Linked DNA regions of Homo sapiens: region 1 is linked to region 2. The links are contacts of gene promoters, found by promoter capture Hi-C in human tissues and cell types (Jung and others, 2019). All regions are on one chromosome and are shown on one strand. The core of a region is centred on a gene start or on the middle of the fragment in contact, and the rest is flanking DNA. Distances in the headings are between cores, read along the strand shown. Region 1 overlaps SARM1 (sterile alpha and TIR motif containing 1). Region 2 holds the start of SLC13A2 (solute carrier family 13 member 2).

Region 1 (4,375 bases), core at 1-2,500, 77 kb before region 2:
TGGTTATAGATTGCTACATTCCAAGGAAGATGACTTTATTACCCCCTGAGAAAGGGTGGTGATCTAAGTGGGGATCTAAGGGAGTCTTATCTCTGGTGCCATTTGGTCTTCCTAAGTAATTACAGAAAAAAAAAAAATAGGTGGAAGTTGCAGCTGCATGCCCCATGACTCAGGCTGCAGAGACCAATTCCTGTCAAGGCTCAGAATAACTTAAAGTTCCAAGAGCTTTAGGTTTGATTTAACAAAGCTTGAATAATAGTAATAAATAATATTATTAATCTCAAAATCCTGGGCTCAAGTGATCCTCCTGCCTCAGCCTCCCAAAGTGTTGGGATTACAGGCGTGACCCACCATGCCCAGCTGAATTATTTAATTTCACAGTTATAAAGGACACAGCTCAAGAATAGCCAAATGGAAGAGATACATAGGATCTCTACGTATGGAGGGTGGAGGTGTGGATGCCATGCCTTCTACCACCTTCCCAGCACCTACACCTGTTTATCAACCTGGAGGCTCTTCAAAACCCCTTGTTTGGGGGTTTTTATGGAGGTTCCATTATGTAGGCATGATTGATTAAATCATTGGCCATTGGTGATTGAACTCAATCTCCAGCACCTCTCTGGAGGCTGGGAGGTGGGGCTGAAAGTTCCAATCCTCTAGTCATGCCCTGGTCTCCCTGGTGACCAGCCCTCTTCCTGAAACTATCTAGGCTACCCCCATAGCACCCCCCGGGCCCCCAGTGGGGAATCATCTCTTTAGCATACAAAGACACTCATCACTCAAGAGATTCCAAGGGTTTTAGCAGCTCTGTGCCAGGAACTCTGGGCAAAGGAAAAATATTTATTTTTTATTACACTACAAGGGTTAAGGTAGACATCAAGGTGGACATCAGGACTGGTGTCCTGCCCTGGGCCCAGCCTCGGGCCAGTGGGCCTCCCAGCACCTGCCTGGCTACAAGGGTCCCTAGATGGGTACAGGGGTATCTTCCTCCTTTCCTTTCTTTCTCCAGGAGATTGTGACTGCTTTAAGCTGCGGCAAGAACATTGTGCCCATCATTGATGGCTTCGAGTGGCCTGAGCCCCAGGTCCTGCCTGAGGACATGCAGGCTGTGCTTACTTTCAACGGTATCAAGTGAGCCCCAGGGCCCTGGGACCAGGGGGGTAGGGTACAAATCACCATGACAGGCAGAGTGTGGGCAAACAGCTGACTAGCAGCTCCCTCTGCCCAGCTGTCTGAACCACATTGGCTCCTGTGCCCACAGGTGGTCCCACGAATACCAGGAGGCCACCATTGAGAAGATCATCCGCTTCCTGCAGGGCCGCTCCTCCCGGGACTCATCTGCAGGCTCTGACACCAGTTTGGAGGGTGCTGCACCCATGGGTCCAACCTAACCAGTCCCCAGTTCCCCAGCCCTGCTGTGACTTCCATTTCCATCGTCCTTTCTGAAGGAACAGCTCCTGAAACCAGTCTCCCTGGGCTGAGACAACCTGGGCTCTTCTTAGGAAATGGCTCTCCCTCCCCCTGTCCCCCACCCTCATGGCCCACCTCCAACCCACTTTCCTCAGTATCTGGAGAGGGAAGGGAAGTCAGGCTTGGGCACGGGAGGTTAGAACTCCCCCAGGCCCTGCCATTGGGTTGTCTGTCTCCGTCATGGGGAGGGTCCCTGCTCAGTTCTGGAGACACTGGAGTTGGGGTGGGGGTGGTTCTGCATTCCCTTCTCCTGCTGATAGCAGTCAGCTTGAGGAGGATGACGGAAGGCAGCCTCAGACAGGAATTAAGGCAATGCCCAGGCGGGCCTGGGCACTGTATTCTGAGCAAGGGCCTGGGCCCAGGAGCCAGCCAGGGATGAGTGCCATCATGGCTCTCCACTCAGACTGTGCCTGGCCCCTGCACTTACAACTTCCTGCCGCTCTGTGGCCTTGCCCTGTAATCACTCAGTGCCCTTAGCTAGCCTGACTAAGTCCCAGATCCCCTACAGCTTCCTTCGGTGTGGTATCTTTTGCCACATCCAGGGCGAGGGTTGAGGCAAACCAGCCCTCCCTCTGACTTCCTTGTCACTGCAGCCAGCTTTGCTGCACTTGCTGGTGCACAGGAGCCTCCTGTTTGGGCCTGGGTCTGGGCATGGGGAGGCCGTGCCTCAAAGCCCACCCTACCCCATGCCTTGGTGCTGTGCCTCAGGCTCCTTCCTGGTCTGGCCCAGCTGGCTTCCCCAGCCCCTCAGCCATCCAGGGCTACCCACTGCTTACTCAGGGACCAGGCAGCCCCCATGGCAGTAAAAGCAGCCTAGACAGAACCTGCAGCTCTGTGGAAAGAGGCAAAGTCCTGAAAAGGCAAAGGGTTGTCACTTAGGGCAGCTTCTCCAACTTTAACATGCATCCAAGTCACCTGGGAATGTTGTTAAAATCAGGAGATCTGGGGTGGGGCCTAGGACTCTGCATTTCTTACAGATTCCCAGGTGAGCTGATGCTGGTGGTTAAGGGTAGCAAATCTCTAAAGCACGAAGCCCTCACAAATCTTTGCCATTTCCCAAACACTCCGCTCCATGGTCTCCAGTCATCAGAGCAACTCTACCTGGTATTATCATCCCCATTTTACAGATAATGACACTGAGGCTCAGAAAGGTTGAGGATAAGCCCACTTTCCTGTCATTAGTGGCAGCCCCAGATCCAGACCTAGGCCTCCTGGCACCCAGTCCACTGGCAGTGGAATTGCTTTCCTGAGAATCATTCTGAGGCTGGGCTATTGCTTCTCCCTTGCTTCAAAGAATCTAGCAGCGGGGGATAGGATTTTGCAACAAAAAGCTGACCCAGAGGCCATACAGAGCAGGAATATCCCATTGCCCCCTCCTCCACTGGGTTCAGAGGGTAAGAAAGCACCCTCCAATAAACCCAGGCTCCAGGCCGTGGGGGCTGCTGAAGGCTCTTTCCCCGCAAGGGCCAGGTGTTGACACCTTAAAGCTGGCTGCGCCCCCAGCCCCACTCTTGGCTGTGCTGGCCAGGTGACTCCTAGTTCTTGGCCACATCATCAGAAAGTCAAAGGTCTCACTCCAGGTTTGGGGCTCCTTCCTTCCACTCCCCTCCCTGCCAGAGTCTGTCTTGGCCAGTGCCAGCCTCGATGCTTTGGTTTTGACCCCACCTGATCCTCCTTTCCTCATGCAGCACAAGTGCTCACCGGGGCCAGAGCCAGGGCATGGATATGACAAGCAGGGCAGCCTGGACACTGCCCTCACAGGACAGCGCCAATAACAATACAGTGTCTGAGTATCTCCAGGGGATGATTTCTGGCTCTTTGTCTCCAATCAGTCCCACTCCCTCCTGAGGTCCCCAAGGGCAGTATTCAGAGAGGTTTCCTGCGTTTTATTTCTATTTGGTATACCCTCCACTGTTGTCCACTGCCCTGTGTGGCCTTCTGGTTGACCTCTGCCCGATCTTCTGTCTCTCTGAGGGAATCAGAGTCCAGCATCCAGCCCCAGCTGGAACAGCTGAAGTCACAAGCCTCCTCTAAGCCAAGGCCAGTGTGTTCAGAGGTGACTGCCACCCATACTAGGACAAACACAGCTCAGATCACCAGGTCAAGCACCTAGGCCTGGCTTCTCCTGAGACAGAGGACTCAGAAGTGGCCTTTCCTCCAAAGCCTGCTCAGACACAGGTCTGTAGGGCCAGGGTGTTCTGCTTGGCTGGGCTGCAGCTGCTACCCCTCGGTTGGGGCTGAGTCAGCCAGATCCTCCCCCTACTTCTCCCCAAGGGCCAAGAACTGCTCAGGGACATTAAAGGTCAAAAGTCCAGCCACACTCATTCATCCTTTCCCCAGGCCCATGAAGAGAGGCATCTCATTGTAGAATGTATGAGGAAGTGGGAAGTATCTCAGAGAATCAGCTAAGTTTCCTAACTTGTCCATCCAAATGTGATCACCACGATTCAACAATTTGGGGCATTGCTGATCTAGCCGTTCCTAGTGGGGCTTGCTCAAGGTTGCACAGCGAGTCAGTAGAAGCCCTGGCTGGCCCCACTTGGTACCAATCCACCAGGCAGCTCAGGGCTCCTGCCCAGCCCAGCAGCTTCTGTTGTCTAACGTATGGCAGGCAGACTGGGAGCAGGAAAACAGAGGGCCCCAAAGCCCAAGGCACCAGAAGGTTTGTTTCAGTTTGCTGAAGCTGATTTGTAATGATTGGCACTCTTCAGCCAGGGGAGTGGGTAGGCCATAGCCAAGGATCGATTCCCCAACCACAGCAAAGGCAACACTCTTCCTCCAGAGATCACCAAGCCCCTCTTACCTCCCTCCCTCCTTCCCAAGGCTGGCACTAACCAGGTACCACATTCATTGTTAAGGAATGGCTGATGACTGCTACACGTGTTGGGAACCTGGTTGGGGCTGT
Region 2 (4,209 bases), core at 995-3,494:
AGAGGGCTGTAGGGGGAAGCCAGAGGGTCTCAGTAAAACATTGAGTTTTGTCCCAGCTCCATCAAAGGAGACCAGAGAATGGAGGGCTGAGCCAAGGGCACAGCCTTCCTGGAAACAAATCTGCATTCTCTCTGTTACTCACAAGGTGTGTGACTCTAGACGAGTAACCTCACTGCCCTGAGCCTACATCACAGAATTGGTATGGAGAGTTAGGTAAACTGGGATGCAGATTTTACACATGGTGAAGCTGGGCCTGGTTTTTTTTTTTTTTTTTTTTTTTGTGGCTCCTTAAAAGCCTCAGGCCATGGGAGAGGCTTCCACCAAGGTGAGATAGAATCGGGGCATTGTCCTGAGTGTCTGAAACCCTTTGTCTCTCCCTGTCCTTCCTGGCTCTTGCTTACTTTGCCCTGGGCAGGTGGCAGGCCACTGTGTGGGAGTGAAGGAGCCATGCCTGAAGGGGGGCTGGGGTGGCTAGCCTGTACTCTGTTACTGTAGCATCCCACCAGCCTGGCCTCGCTCCAGGAGCCCTCGAACTGGATCCCTCTGACCTCTAGGACCGCCCTGCAGAAAGCACCAGGGGCCTTTCTCTAAAAGATCCACTGGCTCCAGGAGTGTCTCGGTGGCATAACAGCCCAGGCCATGCTATGGTACACCTAAAACTATAGTTATCAGCTCTTAATCCTGTCCCCCGCAAATCCACATTCCAACCACGCAGAACCTTCTGTTCTCTAAACGTCCCCACGCTTCTGCATCTCTTCCCAGACTGTCTTCGCTGCCTGAAACATTCTCCCTGATACCCCGCCTCCTTATCCTAGCACACACGGATCATCATACTCTGATAACCTCAGAAACATGCATTGACCTTCAACTGCGTGCAGTCAGGGTGAGGAGGGGTGAGGGCGCCAGGAGACTGAGGGTCTGGCCAGAGATAAGACCCACAATTTCTTCCAAACTACAACTTGCTCCGTTCAACATACATACACACACACACGCATGCACTTGCCACCCTCCAGGCCTTCGTTCACTCTTCCCTCTCCTTGTGCCCCTTCCCCTATCACCTCGTGCCAAGTAAGACTGAGCTCTCAAGCCTTCGCTCAGATGCCATCTCTTCCAGGAGCCCTTGCCTGGTGCCTTTCACCCAGAGCTTCTGCCCTGGTTTGGACCTCCCTCAGGATACCCATAATGCATGTGTGAATTCTGGCTGGCTCCATGTCCTTTGGCCTCAGTTCCCCCATCTGTTAAATGGAATAGTAACACCTAACCCATGGTGTAGTTACCGAGTTGATGAAGTACAGTAACTGACTTGTACTAAGTGCTGAGCAAATGTCAGTCTTTACCACCAGCAGCAGCAGCAGCATTTTAATCTCTGTATCTTTAGCACTGAGCACAGGGCTGAATACATAATTGGTACTAAATACTTGCTTGGTGGAGGGATGGATGGATGGATGGTTGGATGGATGGATGGATGGATGGATGGATGATGGATAAATGAGAGATCTAGTATGTTTCCAAAATAAGAGACAATCTTTGCTGGGGGGCGAGGGGGCTAGGAAGAGCCTGAAAGAAACTAACCTTCATCGTACACCTGCCATGCATCAAAGCTCAACATATATAAGTTGTCTAATTTGAGCCTCACAATAGCAAGATATTACTGCAGAATAAGGAAGTGGCTAATTCTGAGAGGTTAAGTCGGTGGATCAGTGTCACACAAGATGTAGTCAGGACCAGGGACTTTGATGGTCCTCGATACCTGGAAGGAGGAGGAGGAGGACTTGCTCCAGGCCTTAGCTACTGTCAATCTTAGACTGAAAATTCCTAGGGCATCTCTGTGGGCAGGGCAGGGCCACCCCACCCAGGCTGTCACATAAAGTGCTCAGCTGAGAACCTAGCTTTGGAGAACAGCAGAAAGGAAAGGCCGGGCCAGCGGAGGTGGCTTGGGGGCTGCCTGTGGAGGGTGGCTGGGGGACTCTCCTTCCTTCTCCAGCTCCTCCAGCACCACCCTCAGCAGCCTCCAAGAACAGAAGGAGTTAACGCTGGGATTAACTTCTTGAAGGAACCTGAAGTTTTTTAATCCTTGTTCTTTCCTCCTTCCTTCTCCCTCTCCCTTCCTGATCTTTACTCCGCCTGTGGGTCCCTCCTCCTTACTCTCACCTCCCCAACTCCAAAAACACTCTGATTGCCAGACTGGGTCAATGGTTAACACTCAACTGGCTTTATATAAGCCTGCCACCTGCCTGCTTGGCTGCATCTTTGGTCCTTCTGTTACCCAGCTCCTGGAGGCAGTGGCTGTAGCAGCCCTTGCTGCTCCACACCATGGCCACCTGCTGGCAGGCCCTGTGGGCCTATCGCTCCTACCTGATCGTGTTCTTCGTGCCCATTCTCCTGCTGCCTCTGCCCATCCTCGTCCCCAGTAAGGTAAGGACTTGGTGTTCTGAGCACAGATAACTCCAGGGGGCAGAGGAGGGACTGTCTGGGCCGGGGTTGGGCATCCTTAGGATCCAGCATAACTTCCTCACTGCCCCTGCCCTGGAAGTGAGGCTATCGCCCCCTGCTCCTCCTGAGGACTGAGGGCTAGGAGGTCAAAGGGGCTTTTGCTTGGCACCCAGTTGTAGGAGCCCAGCGTGAATTACTTAGGTGGGTTTGCAACCTACTGCCCTAGGAAACAGGAAACCAGTTCCATCAACAAGATGCAAGGGGGGCAGATGGAGCTGATCTACCTACTGTGTGCCCACCTAGCCCTGGACTGGGCTCCATGGCGGCTGAGATGGGCTGGCTGTGGGGAGGGGACGGCTGGGTAAGCAGCAGCAGAGTGAAGAGGGTTGGAAGGAGAATAGGAGAAAGCTGGCTGCAGGCGGTCTGCATCTTTAAGAGCATAAACAGGAAGAGAAAGAGTTCACCTGTGGATTCAAGGGCTAAGTCTGTGGAGGAGGAGGGGTGGGAGTTGGAAGAGGGGACCGCTGCAGGTAGACAGCACAAAAACTGTGCCCTGGATGGAGGGGGAGCTGGGCACAACCAGGCGTCACTGCCTCCTCCTCCGCCCCCAGCAGAAGTCATAACTTCATCTCTCATTAAATCAAGCCGCCAATGCCTGCCCTGCCCTAGGCACCCAGTAACCTTTTCCACCATCTTAAGAGGTCAGGCCTGACTGTCCCATTTGACAAATGGGGAAGGTGAGGTTAAGTCACTTAGTCAAAGTCCCAGGGCAGATCCAAGTTTCATGGAACTTGGATATTATACACTTTTGGGCCCCACTCTGTAAGAAAAAGGACACAAAAGTATTAATCTGAAATTAGTTTGGGGCTTTGGGAAGGGTCCAGGGGGAAGGCCTTGAAGTTCAATCTTCAGTCAGTCGGCCTCTGGCAAATCACACAGCTGGGAGGTTCAGAGCTGGGGGTGTGATCTGGTGCCAAAGCATGTCTTCTCTCCACCCTGCTGCCTCCTGCCCCACCCCACACCCCCAGAACTGCCCATCAAGCCATTTTCTTCCTTTTGTCATAGATAGAGAAATTGAGTCAGACTTTTTTGTTCATGGTATCCCAAAGGGGTGAGAGACTGGGGGTGATAGTGGCACAGCCCCTGGGCCCCTGACACCTGGTCAGTAACAAGGCCCAGCTGACCTTTGAGATGACCTTCATCTCAGGCCAAAGCCGGTGGCATCTCAGTGCTAGGGACCCATCAGATGGGTTTTCCGACAGGCTGGGGCAAGTGTGTTAACCCCAGGAGGGAAGCCAGACAGGGATTTTGATTTCTTCCCAATTCCCCTCGACCTGGGGAAGCACAGCACAGAAAGATTCAGTAACTTGCCCAGGTCACACAGGAAATCCTGAGTCAGTGCTAGAAGCCATGCCTGTTGGTGAGACTGGGATGTGTTAGGAGCCCCTGTCTTCTGTGCACCGTATCTGGCCCTGCTACCTGCCTCTGGCTCACAGATGCTGCCAGCCCCATCCTGACTCTGGTCCTGTCTAGGAGAGGCCAGCCCCTCTCAAGGACTTTGCTCCTGCAATTGTCCTCTCACTCTCCTACAAGATAAATATTTCCTCTCTGCCTGATCTCCCCCATCCACATACGGAGGTGCTGTAATATCTCTCATCTTAAACAAACAAGAGCTCTCTTTCAAGGCCACGCTCCTTCCAGGATAGTGCCTCTTTCTCTGCTCTCTCTCATAACAGGAAGTCTCAAGACACTGTCTACACCACAAGCGCACTTTCT

Evidence for each region. Contacts are between HindIII fragments. The study calls those that stand out against the background at their distance.
Region 1: a fragment that was not itself captured here is called in contact with the fragment with the promoter of SLC13A2 in region 2 in 8 of the 25 tissues and cell types used here (IMR-90 fibroblasts, aorta, dorsolateral prefrontal cortex and 5 more).

The regions. Positions count from the first base shown.
Region 1 is chr17:28,394,896-28,399,270 of GRCh38, forward strand. SARM1 (sterile alpha and TIR motif containing 1) reads left to right here. Exons shown (of 9, transcript NM_015077.4): 8 at 1,010-1,131; 9 at 1,262-4,375. The coding sequence ends at 1,391. It overlaps SLC46A1 (solute carrier family 46 member 1), which reads right to left. Exons shown (of 5, transcript NM_080669.6): 5 at 1-4,375. Among named protein-coding and RNA genes, the nearest start is that of SLC46A1, 9.1 kb to the right of the region's middle. RefSeq lists enhancers at 786-1,469, 2,153-2,836, 3,601-3,690. The HindIII fragment of the contact is 9,060 bases long and covers 1-4,375 here.
Region 2 is chr17:28,471,400-28,475,608 of GRCh38, forward strand. SLC13A2 (solute carrier family 13 member 2) reads left to right here and starts at 2,245. Exons shown (of 12, transcript NM_003984.4): 1 at 2,245-2,415. The coding sequence starts at 2,314. The HindIII fragment of the contact is 27,138 bases long and covers 1-4,209 here.